Linked DNA regions of Homo sapiens: region 2 is linked to region 1. The links are contacts of gene promoters, found by promoter capture Hi-C in human tissues and cell types (Jung and others, 2019). All regions are on one chromosome and are shown on one strand. Each heading gives the region's core, a stretch centred on a gene start or on the middle of the fragment in contact. The rest is flanking DNA. Distances are from core to core; before and after follow the strand shown. Region 1 holds the start of LOC105371348 (a long non-coding RNA gene). Region 2 holds the start of BCAR1 (BCAR1 scaffold protein, Cas family member).

What was found. Contacts are between HindIII fragments. The study calls those that stand out against the background at their distance.
Region 2: the fragment with the promoter of BCAR1 here is called in contact with a fragment that was not itself captured in region 1 in 1 of the 25 tissues and cell types used here (lymphoblastoid cells).

What each region holds. Positions count from the first base shown.
Region 1 is chr16:75,757,128-75,760,057 of GRCh38, forward strand. It overlaps LOC105371348 (a long non-coding RNA gene), which reads left to right and starts at 2,923. Exons shown (of 6, transcript XR_933748.4): 1 at 2,923-2,930. RefSeq lists an enhancer at 1,137-1,186. The HindIII fragment of the contact is 7,555 bases long and covers 1-2,930 here.
Region 2 is chr16:75,250,003-75,253,021 of GRCh38, forward strand. It overlaps BCAR1 (BCAR1 scaffold protein, Cas family member), which reads right to left and starts at 1,622. Exons shown (of 7, transcript NM_014567.5): 1 at 1,469-1,622. The coding sequence starts at 1,480. RefSeq lists silencers at 1,505-1,664, 1,725-1,834 and enhancers at 1,834-2,374, 2,915-3,019. The HindIII fragment of the contact is 33,708 bases long and covers 1-3,019 here.

The DNA of each region.
Region 1 (2,930 bases), core at 150-2,649:
TGAATCAATGACCTCCACCTGGTCTCTCTCTTAACACATGGGGTTATGGGGATTACAAGGGGGATTCAAGATGAGATTTGGGTGGGATCACAGAGCCTAACCATATCAGAGAGGGATGAGGAAGCACCATCACTAAGCTACAGTGGTCAGGAAAGGGCACTTTAAGAAGACGTGATTAGAGTTGGTATCTAAATGAAGGAGGCAGCCACCACATATGTGGTGTAAAGGTATTCTCGGCAGAGGAAATGCCCAGTGCAAAATTCTGAGACTTAGTGAGCCTGCCATGCTAACTGGACAAAATCGTGGTCAGTGGAGTCACAGGAGGTGCTTGGGTAGGTATACACCTGCAAGGACCAGGGCATGGACAACCTCATGGGCCAGGAGAGCATAGATTTGAGTCTCAGTGTAAGTTGTAGGCACTGGAGGGCTTTGAGCAGCATGGCCCATGGTCTTATTTATGGTTTTTAAATGCTGACATTGGCCTCACAGTCGTAAAGGTGAGACAGTTCAGGGAGGAGATAGGGAAAGGGTTGATTACTTAGCCTTTGTGGTCCTTCCAACTCTCAGTCCAGGCTTGTGATGGGGCAGAGAGGACACAGAACAGGGAAGAGAATCAGGGATCCTCGAAAAGTGTTCACATAATTTTGTCTGGGGCTGGTCCTCACTGAAGAGTGTTGGCTTTGACCTGTAAACCCACTTGAGACACCCTTCAGAGTCAAGGTTAAGGTGGCTTCCCGGTGGACACCCCAAGGGAGTTTGGGGTGAGAAGGAAGCTTGTGCTCTCAGGGTTAAATATAATTTGCATTTACATCATGCACATTTTAAAACTGCAATCCTAAACATTGTAATCCTATCAGGTCTTCTTTCGAGATGTGTAATTATTAATACATTAAATTATGGCAATAAAACCAATAGAGAAACAAATAAAATTATTTAAAAAGTAAGTTGGAATAAAATAGTTGCTGTTTTCCTGAATTATTTTAGAGGCTTTGCTAAAAACAACATAAAACTGTAATTATGCTACTTACAAATAGAATAAAATGGAAGTAATTAATTTATTAGTGTTGTTATTGAAATAATCTACAGGCAGAGCACATTATGAAGCAGAATCCTGTCTTTTTTCATCTTATACATGATATAATCACTCACTGGCAATAAAACTAAAATAGAAAATATGAAAATTATTGTAGAGCAGAGGAAAAGGGCTCTTGTGGTTGTGGTTGTGTAGTAGCATGCTCAGTGGGAGGTGGGATCTATCCAGGGGTGACTCACTTTCGTTTTCAGGCTGAGTGGACAGTGCTTGGTGTCCAACATTTCTTGTGGCCAGAGGAGAATGGGGAGGATGTGTCCAGCCAGGGAAGCTCCCTGGTGAAAAGGATTCCTAGGCAATTGTGTCCTGGATTTCTGGAACAGGGGAAGAGCAGAGGTTTCTTTTCTTAGGACCTGTCCCTTTAAGACTCTCTAAACATCTGAGGTCTGACAAGGGGAGGAGGTGGAGGACCAGGGCCTGGACCAGTGGAACTGTGGTCTAGTGGTCATGTTGAATAGAAGGAAGGTCCTGAGCTGTGGCAGCCAGCACCAGGAGCATCAGGTCATGCTCTTTGTGGACCTTGTGAAGGATCTGTTGAGTCAGGGTGGAGTTGACCTGAGGGAGGCCTCTTTCTCCTGGGATCCTGACCTTGGGAGGAATGCTGGGTCTCCCATGAGTCACAGCTTGGTGTTCCTCTTTAAAATACTTTTTAATTTTTAATTTATTTTATAAATTTTTTTGTGAGTACATAATAGTTGTATAAATTTATGGGATACATGAGATGTTTTGATAAAAACATGCAATGTGAAATAAGCACATCATGGAGAATGGGGTATCCATCCCCTCAAGCATTTATCTTTTGAGTTATAAACAATATAATTGCACTCTTTACTTTAAAATGTACAATTAAGTTGTTATTTAGTATAGTCACCCAATCAAAAGTAAGCCTTATTAATTCTATTTTTTTTGTAACCATTAACCTTCGCCACCTCCCCTCAACTCCCCACTAGCTTCGCAGCTTCTGGTAACCATCTTTCTACTTTCTGTGTCCATGAGTTCAATTATTTTGATTTTTAGATTCCACATTAAGTGAGAACATGCAATGTTTGTCTTTCTGTGCCTGGCTTATTTCACTTACCATGACGACCTCTGGTTCCATCCATATTGTTGCAAATGATGGGATCTTATTCTTTTTTATGGTAGAAGGTGCTCCTCTTTCTTTGGGGATGTGGACATCCGGAGGATGCCCTGGTGGTCCTTCTGCCAAATACCCCATTTGCAACACCAGGGACATAAGTATATTTTTGAAAACCTTACATTTTCTTCATTTTTTTTTGGTGTCAGATATGCGTTTTCTTTTTTATTTTATCTTCACACTACCTAGTCAACAAGTTGCATTTCCTTTTCTTTTCTTTTCTTTTTTTTTTTTTTTTTTTTTTTTTTGAGGTGGAGTCTCGCTCTGTCACCCAGGCTGGAGTGCAGTGGCACAATCTCGGCTCACTACAACCTCTGCCTGCCAGGTTCAAACAATTCTCCTGCCTCAGCCTCCCAAGAAGCTGGAACTACAGGCATGTGCCACCATGCCTGGCTAGTTTTTTATTTTTATTTTTGTATTTTTAGTAGAGAAGGGGTTTCACCATGCTGGCCAGGCTGGTCTTGAACTCCTGACCTTGCGATCCACCCACCTCGGCCTCCCAAAGTGCTGGGATTACAGGCGTGAGCCACAGTGTCTGGCCCGCATTTCCTTTTCTTAAGATACAAAGATGTGTCTTAGCCAACAGAGCTCTCAACTCATTGTCATGGGATTTTCTGTCATGGGAAATAAGCTGCTTTGATAATAACCTGTGATTCTTTCAAATTTTTCTGAAAGCATTTTGGTTTGTATTTTGTAGGTGTCCAT
Region 2 (3,019 bases), core at 372-2,871, 510 kb before region 1:
TCTCAGGGCCCCTCCTGTACAGACAGGAGGCCCTAGTGGCACTGTCCTTATTTCCATCCCTCGCCTAGACCTGGGGCCATGGTACCAGTACACAGTGCTCACCCTCCTGCTCAGACAAACAGTAACGGCCAGAAGCTCCAAGCCTCCTGCCCCAGCCCAAGGTGACTTTCCTGGCAGAACCTGGGACTGCCCTGCCCTGCCCTGCCTCCACCCAGCTCCCGGGCAAGCAGTGCCAGGAGGAAGTGTCAGCAGCTCCTCCCCAAAGCTCTTTTCCCCACAGCCCCGCCACCCCCGTACCTGGGCCCCGATTCTCCAGGCACCCCGACACCTGCTCTCACAGGCCGGCCAGCCCCCACCACCCAACTCTCCACCGAGGGAAAGGAATGGGCACAAGAGGGGGCGTGTCCCGGCCCAGGGCGATGGGAAACATCTCACTAGCAAAGAAGAGATCAACCCATGGTCATTCTGAGAAGGTGACCAAAGCTGCGGCGGGCCCCGGGAGGGGTGTGGGAAAGGAAACCAGGGACTCTCAGGAGGGAACGGGAGCCTTGTGGTAGAAAAGGAGCTGCTGTCCCCGATCTGGAACTCGAAACCCCAACATCTTCCAGGCCGTAAGCCCCTCACCCCGCACCCCTAGGCAAATCTCCGCTTTCCCAACTCCCTCACCTCGGTCCAGCGATCAGCCTCTCGGACCCTCGAGAGGGAGCTCCGACCCTGCTCTAGCTCTTGCGGGTCCCCCAACCATGGACTCCAAAGCCTTCATGTCCACACTGCAGAACCCGGCCCTGGCCCCCTCCCGCGACACTCGCGTGCGGCTAGGACTCCTGTGGCCAGGACCCGGCTTCCACCGGCGCTCGGCGTGCGGGGCTGCAAAGCCCGCGGCGCGCCCGCCCCCACTCCCGCTCCGCTCCCGGAACCCCGCGCCGGCGGCCGGAGTGAATCATTAACTGGAGCCGGGTGCTCCGGCTGCGCAGCCTTCCCCGCTGGCGCCACGCACTTGCCCGCCCGGCCTCGGTCCCCCGGAGCTCCTCCCTCTCCGGGAGCCGGTGGGCAGTCCCCACGCCACACCAGCCGGACCACCCGCCAGAGGCTCAACGGCCCCTCCTCGCAGCCGAGGAAACTGAGGCTCGGAGGCAGGGCGCAGAGGCCCAAGGTGACACAGCAGGCGGCCGTCGGCCGGGGAGCGCGGGCCCCGCCAGCCACTTTCCCGACACAGGAACCCTCCTACCGGCTGGCGGCCCCCGCGCCCGGCCCCGCCAACGCACCCGAGGCGCACAGGCTCCGGAGCCCCCGCGGTTCCTGCCTCCCGGCTTCCCGGCCAGGGCAGAAGGAGATCCCAGGGCCGCGGACCCCGGCCGGCGGTTCCCAGGCCCCGCAGGTCCGGCAGGAAATGCCGCTCGCTTAACCCCTTCCAGCCCGCTGCCGCCTCCAAGCCCGTACGCGGCCCGGCCCCACCTGGCGCCCTCACCAGGTGGTTCATGGTGTCCGGCGGGCCTGGGGCCCCGGCTCTCGCGGGGGCGCACACCGAGCTGCCCGGGCCGCGTGCCCTCGGGGCTCCGAGCGCGCCGCAGCCGCCCCGGTGCCGCCGCGCAGCTGCCGCCTCGGCCACCCAGAGCCGGTCCAGCCGCTCTCCGCCTGCCGCCACGGCCCAGCCGGCCCAGCCCGATCCCAGCATGCCCGGCCGCGCGCGCCCATTGGCCGCCGCCGCTCTCCATGCAAATAAGCCGCCTGTCGGGGGCGCGGGCGCGCAGACAGAAGCCCGCCCAGTAGGGGCCGCCCCCCGCCCCGCCCCCCACCTCCAACCCCGAGGCTCCAGGCCCCTGCCCGAGGCCAGGCTTCCAGCCTAGGGCGCAGGACACCGCTCTCCAACAAATGCACGTCCCCGCCTTCCACCCAGGCGAGAACGCACCGAAGGCCTACGCAAACTCCTCCACTTCTGGGAAGGCTGCCCGGTTTGCCTTCTTCCTCCAGAGCCGAGACATGGCCTCAAGTCGACTTGTCTTTCCCGCTAACCAACCCCAGGGCATTCATCGCGTGTCCATGGGCCGTGGGACTCAAATCTGAATCTAGAGGGAAAGGGGAGGGGGCGTGCCCCAGCCTGTAGGAGACGAATCATCACCACCACAGCTCCGACTGTAGACGGTCCCACCGTGTAAGGACCCCAGGAAATGAAGCCTCAAGCAGGGAGGCTGGCGAGCTCTCGACCCAGCGCTTTTCACGGGCAGCACCTACCTTCCCCTGCATTGTGCCGACATCTGGGGACTCGGGCTGGTCCTCCAGCTGATCTGCCTCCTCTCATTACTCATTCCTAGGTTCAGCCTAAAACCTGGGCCTAGTACCCTCCTGAGTCCTGCTCCAACTCATCTGCTTCAGCGACATGGGGTAGGAGAGCGGCACTGGGGGAATGAGGGAGATAGAAGGAAGAATCACTCGGGGGAAACCGAGTGGAGACAACCTTGGCTCTCCTGAGTTGCCCCTTGCTCGGTTGCAGGTCAGTGACTGTCACCCCATGCAGCAGAACCAGGGTGCCAGAGCCCCTGGGCCAGGCCAGGGAGGCACAATCTGCAGGGAGATGATAGGACCGAGCCTGGTCCAGACCAGACAGGACCCTCAGTCAACAATCCTGGGCCACTGGCTGAGCAATGGGATGCCACGAGGCAGCCCTGGTGGCAGGGAAGCAGCGGGGTAGACCCGGCTTCACGCAGCAGAGAATTCTCAAGCATGGCCTATGGAAGACACAAGCCCAGGTGGGCCTGCAGCTGCCCCTCTGTCTGACCCCCAGGGCTCAGCCTACGCAGCGCCTGGCCAGATGTGCCACCTTGGCAGGCCCTCTCCCCTCTCTGGGCTCCTTTCTCATCTGAAAAGGGGCTAGGACAGCCCATGATTTGCTGCTCAGGTGCTCTGGGGAGCTAGTTAAAAAACAGACTCCTGTGTCCCACCCCTCCCAAAAAACTGGACGTCTGCATTTCTTCAATATTTGGCTTGGGAAGCATTGGCCAGAACTCACAGCACAGCGGGT